2 separate regions of the Homo sapiens genome follow, and region 2 is linked to region 1. Evidence: promoter capture Hi-C in 16 types of primary human blood cells and fetal thymus (Javierre and others, 2016). All regions are on one chromosome and are shown on one strand. Each heading gives the region's core, a stretch centred on a gene start or on the middle of the fragment in contact. The rest is flanking DNA. Distances are from core to core; before and after follow the strand shown.

What was found. The method cuts DNA at HindIII sites, captures the fragments that hold promoters and counts their contacts. A CHiCAGO score of 5 or more calls a contact.
Region 2: a fragment that was not itself captured here is called in contact with the fragment with the promoter of LBP in region 1 in 1 of 17 cell types (monocytes); the score reaches 6.1 in monocytes.

Annotation. Positions count from the first base shown.
Region 1 is chr20:38,344,508-38,349,355 of GRCh38, reverse strand. LBP (lipopolysaccharide binding protein) reads right to left here and starts at 2,874. Exons shown (of 15, transcript NM_004139.5): 1 at 2,716-2,874. The coding sequence starts at 2,839. RefSeq lists an enhancer at 4,821-4,848. The HindIII fragment of the contact is 10,913 bases long and covers 1-4,848 here.
Region 2 is chr20:38,073,884-38,079,076 of GRCh38, reverse strand. All of the region lies in intron 6 of RPRD1B (regulation of nuclear pre-mRNA domain containing 1B), which reads right to left. Among named protein-coding and RNA genes, the nearest start is that of RPRD1B, 43 kb to the right of the region's middle. The HindIII fragment of the contact is 3,231 bases long and covers 2,234-5,193 here.

The DNA.
Region 1 (4,848 bases), core at 1,625-4,124:
GTGGCATTGTTAGGTTCATGCCCATTTTACTGATGAGGAAATGGAATGCCTTTGCCAACAAATCCCCAAGGGCAAAAGTGCTGTGCGCTTGGACGGATAGTCCTCCTTCTTGTTCTCCATGACATCTGGCCTGTGTAGAAGAAACTGGAAGGATCTGGGGGCTAGAGAAAGAGGGCATCTTTCTAGCTGGGTGACTTTGACAAAGTCCCCAAACAACCTTCACTTTGTTCATCTGTCAAATAGCAATGACAACAATACATTTGCTGGGCGTGGTGGCTCACGCCTGTAATCCCAGCACTTTGGGAGGCCGAGGAGGGCAGATCACCTGAGGTCAGGAGTTCGAGACCAGCCTGGCCAATATGGTGAAACTTCATCTCTGCTAAAAAATACAAAAATTAGCCGGGCATGGTGGCAGGCACCTGTAGTCTCAGCTACTCAGGAGGCTGAGGCAGGAGAATCACTTGAACCCGGGAGGCAGAGATTGCAGTGAGCCGAGATCGCACTACCGCACTCTAGCCTGGGCGACAGAGTGAGACTCTGTCTCAAACAAAACAAAACAAAACAAAACTAAACTAAACTAAACTAAACTAAACTAAACTAAACTAAACTTTCCTCATTGGCATGCCATTGAAACTGCAAAGCAAGAAGGGGGCTGTGAGGATAACAAGCACTCCTAGCTTGGTGCCTGACACACAGCAGGCACTCAGTAAATGCCTGGAACAGCAAATAGGGTTTATATTATTAAAAATATGGAAAGGGGTCGGGCGCAGTGGCTCACGCCTGTAATCCCAGCACTTTGGGAGGCCGAGGCGGGTGGATCATCGAGACCATCCTGGCCAACATAGTGAAATCCTGTCTCTACTAAAAATACAAAAATTAGCTGGGCGTGGTAGCATGTGCCTGTAATCCCAGCTACTCGGGAGGCTGAGGCAGGAGAATCACTTGAACCAGGGAGTCGGAGGTTGCAGTGAGCTGAGATTGTGCCATTGCACTCCAGCCTGGCAACAGAGTGAGACTCCGTTTCAAAAAAAAAAAAAATATGGAAAGGACCAAAATGTCCAACCTCAGAGGACTGGTTACATAAACATGGTGTGTGTGCACAGTGCAAAGGAACAAAAGAGAAACTTCCCTGATTTACAGTTTCAATGCAAGTAGCAGTTACCAGGTCCCACTGTTCCGAGATCTGAGGGGCCCAGGTTTCTGTCCCCAAGGCAGACATGGGTACACAGATGACCAGCAGCCTCCCCTTTCACCTCTTTCCAATTTGCTCTTCTCCCTCTAGCAAACGCACATGTTGGGGTCCTTCCGCCTGGAACGCTACCCCTTGTCCCTGGGTAATTCCCACTGTCTTTTCCATTTTACTATATCCTGGAATCCTTCCCTGATTTCCCTCTGCCTGTCTCGAGCCAGTCTGGGCTCCCAACAACCCTATCTAAGGGAATGTTGTTATCTCATTTAATAGGTAAGGCAATTGAGGCTCTAGGGATGTGAGAAGACATGTGGTCAGTGCCTGTCCATATCCTTGAGTCTTTCCAGTGAGTGACAGTTGACTCCCAGCTGCCAATGTCTGCCTCCCTGAGCCTGTATGTCCCGAGGCTTTTTGTCCTGGAACTGCAGAAAGCAGGTACATGCAACAGGACAGAAGTGCTGGGGAGTTGACAAACCCCCGGCCCAGAAGCCCTCAATCAATCACTGTGGTGTATAAATATCCCAGTTCCCATGCCACCTGGATAGTCGGGAGGCTTTGTTTCAGTATTTAAAAAAAAATACTCCTACTTTTGCTCATTCTTTGTTTTATTTTTATTTATTTTTTTGAGACAGTCTCCCTCTGTTGCCCAGGCTGCAATGCAGCAGCATGATCTCGGCTCACTGCAACCTCTGCCTCCCGGGTTCAAGCGATTCTCCTGCCTCAGCCTCCCAAGTAGCTGGGATTACAGTTGGCTGCCACCAAGACTGGCTAATTTTTGTATTTTTAGGAGAGGCGAGGCTTCACCATGTTGGCCAGGCTTGCCTCGAACTCCTGGCCTGAAGCTATCCACCCACCTCGGCCTCCCAAAGTGCTGGGATTACAGGCGTGAGCCACTGTGCCTGGCCTGCCCATTCTTTAAAATTGAGGAATAATATACATAAAGTACCTAACGGGCACAAATTTTAAAGGTATTGCTAAATAATTTTTAATGTTTATACAGGAATGTGATCACCACCTGGATCAAGATATGGCAACTTCCAGCACCCCGGCAGACCTCCCTCATGCCCTTCAGGGTCTCTGCCTGCCTCTAGAGGTGACCACAATTCTGACTTCCAGTTCAGAGGCATGTGTTTCCAAACTTTACGCAGAATTTTCCCAGCTGAGTGGTTCCCATCATCAGAGGTGGTGGCTGGTTTAATTGCACACTCTCTCCTGGCTGCCCTCCCTTCCTCATCTCAGTACCGATTCCCTACAGTGTTTCCTGGAATCATTTCCCAAATCAACTACTTGCACGCAAAGCTGTGTTCTGTTGGCTGGTGGAGGACCTCACTACCACAAATAACATGCCCAGGGCACTCAGCTGGTGGGCAGTAAGGCCAGAATAGGAGCCAGAGCCACCTGACCCAGAAGGTGGCACTGCCCCAGGGAGAGGGTCCGGTCTGTGTCCCCACTCCCTGTCCCCACTGTACCCAGAGCAGCCTGGAGCGTGGGTTTGCCAAGTCCAGCCAGCAGATGTGGCTTCTTACCATACTGCAGTCCCTTGTCGGTGATCCTGGCGACCAAGCCGGGGTTGGCACCCAGAGCCTCTGGGGTGGACGTAAGCAGCAATGCCAGCAGTATGGACGGCAGGGCTCTGGCCAAGGCCCCCATCCTAGATTCCCAGTGCAGTGGGCCAGGACTGTCCCAGCTGTGGATTGGGCCCAGGTCCCTTAAGTAGCCAAGGCTCGATGGCTGGGGGCAGTTCCTGAGGCTGGATGGGTTCCTGGGAGCGGGAAGGGGAGGCACAGGGACTGGAACCTGCTTGCGACATCACTGAAGTCATAAGGTCATACTTAGAAGCCAGTTTTCACTGCCCAGATCAGTGGATGAGGAAGCCTGACTCCTATGATCATCCCTGTCCACCCTCCCCACAGAAAGACCCCATATTCATCACTGTTCATCTTGCCTCATCTCAGCCAGTCTCTTAAGAGCTCGGCTAGGAAGGCCTGGTTTAGCAGATGAGGAAACTGAGGTTCAAAAAAGCCACATAGCTCCCTTGAGATCTCACCCCCAGCAGAGGGCAGGGTTGAGAGTGAAGCTACATCTGGCACCAACCAAACTCTCTTTTTTAAAATATATTGGCTCGTTTATTTAAAAAATAAATGTTTCCCCCAATGGGAAAACAGTGTTTCTCAAACCTTGCTGGTGGTGAAATTTTCTGGAAGGCAATTGGCAAATGTTTAAACAGTTGCATGCCCTGTGACCCAGGAATTCAATTTCAGGGACTTGCCCTTAAATACATAATTGAGTCAGTGTGCCAGTAAATCACTGCTCCAAGATACCACTGCTATGCTGTGGGAAACAGGACAGGAGAAGTGAGACCCAACCTCATGTATCCACCAGAAGGGCATTGGTTAAATGAATTATGACATGCCCCTTAAAGTGAGGCTGCAGAAATAAAGGTATTTCTTGGCAAGGAAAGGGATGTCATGAGGCATCCGTTTCCGATGGCACCATAGAGTAAGGTTCTATTTTGGGGGGTTCAAAATAGGCTTCTATGTTCAACAATCTGGAAAATATTTAGCAAGGAGTCATGAGGCATTGTCTCTGGTTGTGGGGGTAGAATTATAAGTGTTAAAAAAGTTTTTGCTTGTTGATACGTACAATTTTTTTTTCTTTTTTCATTTTTTGAGACAAAGTCTACTCTGTTGCTCAAGCAGGAGTCCAGTGGCATGAACATCGCTCGCTGCAACCTCAACTTCCTGGGCTCAAGTGATCCTCCCACCACAGCCCCCTAAGTAGCTGGGACTACAGGTGTGAGCCACCATGTCCAGCTAATTTTTTGTATTTTAGTAGGGACGAGGTCTTGCTATGTTGCCCAGGCTGGTGTCGAACTCCTGAGCTCAAGTAAGCCTCCCGCTTGGCCTTCCAAAATACTGGGATTATAGACTTGGGCCACCATGCCCAGCCTCTAAAATTTTTATTTTCTTGGGGGTATGGTCCCGGGCATATATTCGCAGTAAGTAAAGATAGTAAAATTTCATTCTGGAAAACAAAATTTATAGTACAGACTGTGTTTAATTTTTAGAGTTTTGCCCCAGCCCTGCTTACATTTGTGAGTTCTGCTTTGCCCTCACCCCCAGGAAGCCTTCCCTGACCACTCCCATGCTTCTCTGGATTCTAGAAAGGGTCCCCTCTGAGGTCCCAGAACCCTTTGCGCTTTCCCCACCACAGCATTAACCACTCTGCTTTTTGATAATTGTGGTCCTTTAAAAATATGCCCACGAATTCTTTGATATTCCTTCCATCAAAAGGTAATGTTTCTGCCCCCTTCCCTTGAAATTGGGCAGGTTTTCATGATGGCCTCAACCAACTGAATGTGGTGGGATTAACAGGGTGACTCCCAATAGGTCACAAACAGCACTGGCAGGCACTGAGGTTAAGATCAGAATGTCCCACGTTAAGCACAGGGAACCCCACAGTCCAGGCCTCTCTGCTCCTCTGTACCGTGTTGCTCCTGTCACTGGGGCTGAGGTTTGTTGGGATCCTCATCCGTCCCTCCCCTCAGTCCCCACACCACCAGTCTGATGGCTCCTTGCAGGCACGGCTGAGTCTTCCATTTCCTGAGATCCTTGCAGCACCCAGCAGAAATTGGAAAGAAACTGATATTTATTGAGCAC
Region 2 (5,193 bases), core at 2,600-5,099, 270 kb after region 1:
GGAGAAAGAACACTCACCCCTCCCATATTCTATTATTTTATGAGCAATACTTAATCTTCCTGATTTATAATATGTCAAGAAAAGACATGCAGAGTTGAAGAAAAAGAATTATTAATGGGATACAAGATCCTTTCTCCCAGAAACCATTTGATTATATCCTTAAAATTTAGCACATTTACTAGAAGCTGCCTTGAGAAAAGGAAAGGATCTTTGACCGAGGGCACCTCTTTTTCCTTAAAGGTCTACCTATAATATTGGAAAACAAAAAAAAATCACAGAATTTTTAAACTTGGTGGTACCATAGTCCAGTCAGTCCATCAAGCTATAGGCTTAGTGAGAAGAAGTCCATCGAGCAACATCCTCAGACTGGAAAGAGTCCCCATCAAAGGCAGACACCGACCTTGTCTAGAGATGAACCAAGTGACATCGGTACTTGCCACTCTGAGATCAGGACAGTGGGCCAAGTATCAGGAGTGGGTTGGACATGCCTGAGTGACAATACAGACAGAACTTTATGGTCTGGCAATAATCCACAAACAGACTGACAACCTATGTGGTGCTCTGAAGGAAAAAGCTAGGGAGCTAAGACAGTGTATGGGGCTGGGGGGTTGGGGTGGGGTCTGAGGAAAGACTGCCCTGAGAAAATACTGTTTGACATGAGATACAAATGGTGAACACAGGAATTAACTAGGTAAGTATAACTGATGGAAAGTAAACAAGGGGAAGTGTGTCCTGGGCAGAGAGTGGGAACAGCATATGTAAAGCCTGAGATCAAAGAAGGCCAAGTGCAGACAAAATGCCATGGGACACAACAAGAGATGTGGCTGAGGAAGTCAGCAGGGGCCAAGTCATAGGGCACAGGAGGGGGCCAGGCCAGCAGCTGGGCCCATAGTCTTTTTTTTTTTTTTTTGAGACAGCCTGCACTCTGTCGCCCAGGCTGAAGTGCAGTGGCACGATCATGGCTCATTGCAGCCTTCACCTCCTGGGCTCAAGTGATCCTCCTGCCTCAGCTTCCCCAGTAGCTGGGCATGAACCACGATGCCCAGCTAATTTTTTAATTTTTGATAGAGACGGGGTTTTGCCATGTAGCTCAGGATGGTCTCAAACTCTTGGACTCAAGTGATCCGCCTGCCTCAGCCTCCCAAAGTGCTGGGATTACAGGTGTGAACCACCACACCTGGCCACTGGGCCCATATTCGAAGAACTAGGAATAATGAGAAGCTACTTAAATGTTTAAACAGGGGAATGACATGCTCAGAGCTGCATTCTGAACACATCATAGGGCTGCCATGTGAAGAATGGATTATAGGGCCTAAGAGCAGATGTAGATGATCAGTCATGAGGCTACTGCAAGGATCCAGGGGGGACAGATGATGACAGAGTGGACTAAGGTGATGGAAGTGGAGACAAAGACGCAGAGAAGGGAGGCAGATTCATGAAAAATTGAGAGGGAGCAAAAACCACACTGGCGTAGCACCTACTCAGCTATGGAAGATGGTGGTGGGAGGTCAACCTGGCAGAGGCATAGCAGAGGAACTGAGGGAGAGGCTGTGACAAGGAGGCCAAAGCAACAGATTTGGGAGCTGAAAAAAATCAGGAGAAACACTGGATGAGGCCTAGTGTCTGATTTTGATGGATGGCACTGCCACTCTCCAAGCCAAGGAAAGAGAAGGAAAGGAGAGGTGAGAAGGAAGGAGACAGTCTGTCGCAGCCATACTGTCTGAGGTGTCTGTGGAAATGAGATACATGAGTCTGAAGTACATGGAAGAGGTCTGACCTAGAGATCTAGAGGTAGGCCATCAACATCCAGTTGGTAACTGAAGCCAGCCTAAGTATAAAGCACTCAAGGAAAAGGTCCAGGCCTGGTGCAGTGGCTCATGTCTGTAATCCCAGCGCTTTGGGAGGCTGAGGCGGGTGGATCTCCTGAGGTCATGAGTTCAAGACTCGCCTGGTCAACATGGTGAAACCCCGTCTCTACTAAAAATACAAAAATTAGCTGGGTGTGGTGGTGGGTGCCTGTAATCCCAACTACTCAGGAGGCTGAGGCAGAAGAATTGCTTGAAGTCAGGAGGTGGGAGGTTGCAGTGAGTCCAGATCGCACCACTGCACTACAGCCTGGGCAACAGCGAGACTCCATCTCAAAAAAAAAAAAAAAAAAAAAAAAAAAAAAGGTCCAGAATGAGAAAAGGCTAAAGGAATGGCAACATTTACAATAAAGGCATGGAGAAAAGCTTATTGAAGGATGAAAAAGCAGAAGAACCAGCAGAGGGTGGTACACAGAAACCAGAAATGCAAATACATTGTAATACAGTAATATTAAATGCTGCAGACAGGGCCAAAAAGAGAAAGGGAGCCAAGAGGCAGAGACTAAGAAGTACCTTTTGGGTTTTGAGATTAGACCACTGGGGGCAGGGGTGGGGGGAAGGGGGGAAATTCTGAAGACAGCCACTTGGGTGGAATGTAGACATGCATGCCAAGCTGCAACAGGCTGAGAAGCAGAGGCAGCAAGGGAAGTGGATATGGTGGTAGTTATAAAGGGAGGGTGGTGCAGAGGGTATGCTCATGTGAATGTGATGATTTCTTTTAAACACTGGAGAGACAAAGCATGCTACATGCTGAGGACCTTCAGCTAGTTTACTGGAGACTTCTCATGTGGGCAGGAAAATAAATTGGCCCTAAAGGTCCCATGTGACGAGGGAAGGTGGAAGCTAACAACTTCAGATTAGTTAAGGTGTTGGAATCTGTTGTCCCAGGAAGGTAAAGTGTTACTTTATCAATGAAAAGTCACATCAAAGATAAAACGCTGGGAGGACCACTGGCTTCAATGGAAAAAGCCAAAAAGAACCTGAAATATGCAAAGCAGATCATCATCACTGCACCATAATTGGGGTAAATGGTATCTTAAAGGGAACAATTCCTACTGAGTCTATGCCCCACAGAACAGACACACTGTGAGCAAAAGGAAAGGACTGGGAAAAGGACATCATGAGTAAAAGTAGGATTTGTCCATTCATAATTACTGTCCAAACCCCAATAATTCTCAGAAAGGCTGCTGGTAAATTTTTGTTGAGTTGAAGTTTGCGAAGTTATTGTGCTTGAAATTCTCAAAGTAGCTACTGGCAGAATTAGGCAAAGAGAGCTAATCATACTTCTTCCTACAGATGTTTAAAGATAAAGGACCTCAATAAGGAAAAAAACAAATAAGGAGGCTTGCACAGCCATCATGACAGCTGGCTAGTACCATCCTCTTCACATAAAGCATGCCATATCTTTGGGGCTCATGGCTTTCATCTGCAAAGGTTTCACTTGACTCCTGATTATAACCAGAATACTTTGCCCTGATCTCAGAAAATGACTCTTTCTGATCTATTTCAAGTCTAACATTTTAGAGACAGAAAAACAAAGTCAGAGATTAACTTCCAAGATTGCAAAGTATGCCACAATCCAATTTTAACTTTCTTCAGAATCCCAATTTTAAGTGGGAGTAGAAGGCCCACCTTAACAGTAGTAAGAACATTCATAAAGACTAAAATAGAACCTTGCTCAAAATAACTTGCACCCACTAGGTCAAACAGGCAGCTCAAATTTCTGCAATCTGAACCTTGCTCTCAATATTATGCTCACTCAAGTCAATGTTATAGTAGAAGTATGTGCTATTTTCACACAGCTATCTCAAATGTAAACAAGATCATTTAAAAGCCAGAAGAGAGCTCCATTAGTCTAATTAAACTATTCTGTGTTTACTCCTTCATAAAACAAAAGACTAATCCTTAACTTGTATAGAGGTTTATACAAAATAAGCTCAATGAAGTCCTAGACTGGTTAAGATGCTTTGGAAAAGACAAGAACTCCTACAGCAGGAACGCATTCTGGTGGCAGAGACCGTGAAATGTATATGACCTTCAGTATACTTAAAAGACAAGCAGACATCTGCACATATACATAGAACCACTTCTAGAAATCTACAGGAAGAAAATAATCCAAACACTGAAAGTTAGCCTAAAGCTAAGAGACAGAGACAGAAACATACAAGTGCTCAATACAAATAATCATTGACTATCCAACCACAGGTATTCAAGCAATCATTTACAATGTTTATAAAGTTTTTATTTACAAGGAAAAATAATCATGTTAAGAAAAAAGCATGACAGAAAATTATCTGCAAGTTATCATTCAGTTTAATTTTAAACTAAGAGGAAAAGGAAATACGCAAAAATTAAAAATAGTTATCTCTGGGTAATGAGACTAATTTTATTCTTTATACTTATTTGCTAAGTTTCCTCTGATGTATTACTTTTACAATCAAAAAAAGAAAACAAAAACAAAAACAAAAACCCTGAGTACTAGTTGAACCAGAGTGAATGTTCTGGCAGGCAGGAGTAATAAGAGGCCCAGGTGCTGTTTTAACTTCATATTATATGCATTCCATAAATATGAAAAATTAGTGCTACATATACCAGCTGAAACTCAGTGGCACTGTTCCATCAAGCAGGGGTTACACTGCCCACAGAAGTTGGGCTACAAATATGAAAACGGTACTATGGCTAAAGGCATGAATTCTTGCTGGGAAAGCCTTAAAACCGTGTCACTTTTTCAATGTAAAGTCTCAAAGTCTCAAATGTTGGCAAATCATGTTCTTAAGTCACTAAGTATGTGAAGTACATTATAATGTGGCATTATTTTCCTGGAGTGAAAAATAAGTATCATAGGTTTCACATTGTAATAAAGAAACACACACACACCCAACAGATAAAAGCTCCAGCTATAAACTGGGCCTAAGCAGTAGGGTCAGTAGACTAAAATGAATAAAAGAAATCCAAGGAACTCCAAATCACTCACAGAAGCCCACACATTAACTCAATAAAAGTCCTCACATATTGGAGGGAAACTGGCGGAAAAAAAGAAAATAAAAGAAAAGTAAAAAGAAAGAAAACTCCCACATCAAAGTAGGGGATGGAAAGGCAAGGGAGAGCAGTAAGCACACTACGGCCTGCTTCGTGGGAAGGTACTGAGTGCAAGGCCCCGTAATTACTTGGCAACAGAATGACCTGTTTTAACAACTATTCTAACAACCTGGGTGCTGACAGAGCTGCCAGCCTAGGGAGGACAGACTTGAATACTACAGAAGGGCAGTGAGTTTAGAGGACTGAGAGGAGGGGGCCGGCACTAGGCAGGGCCTCTCAGCTCCCAGGA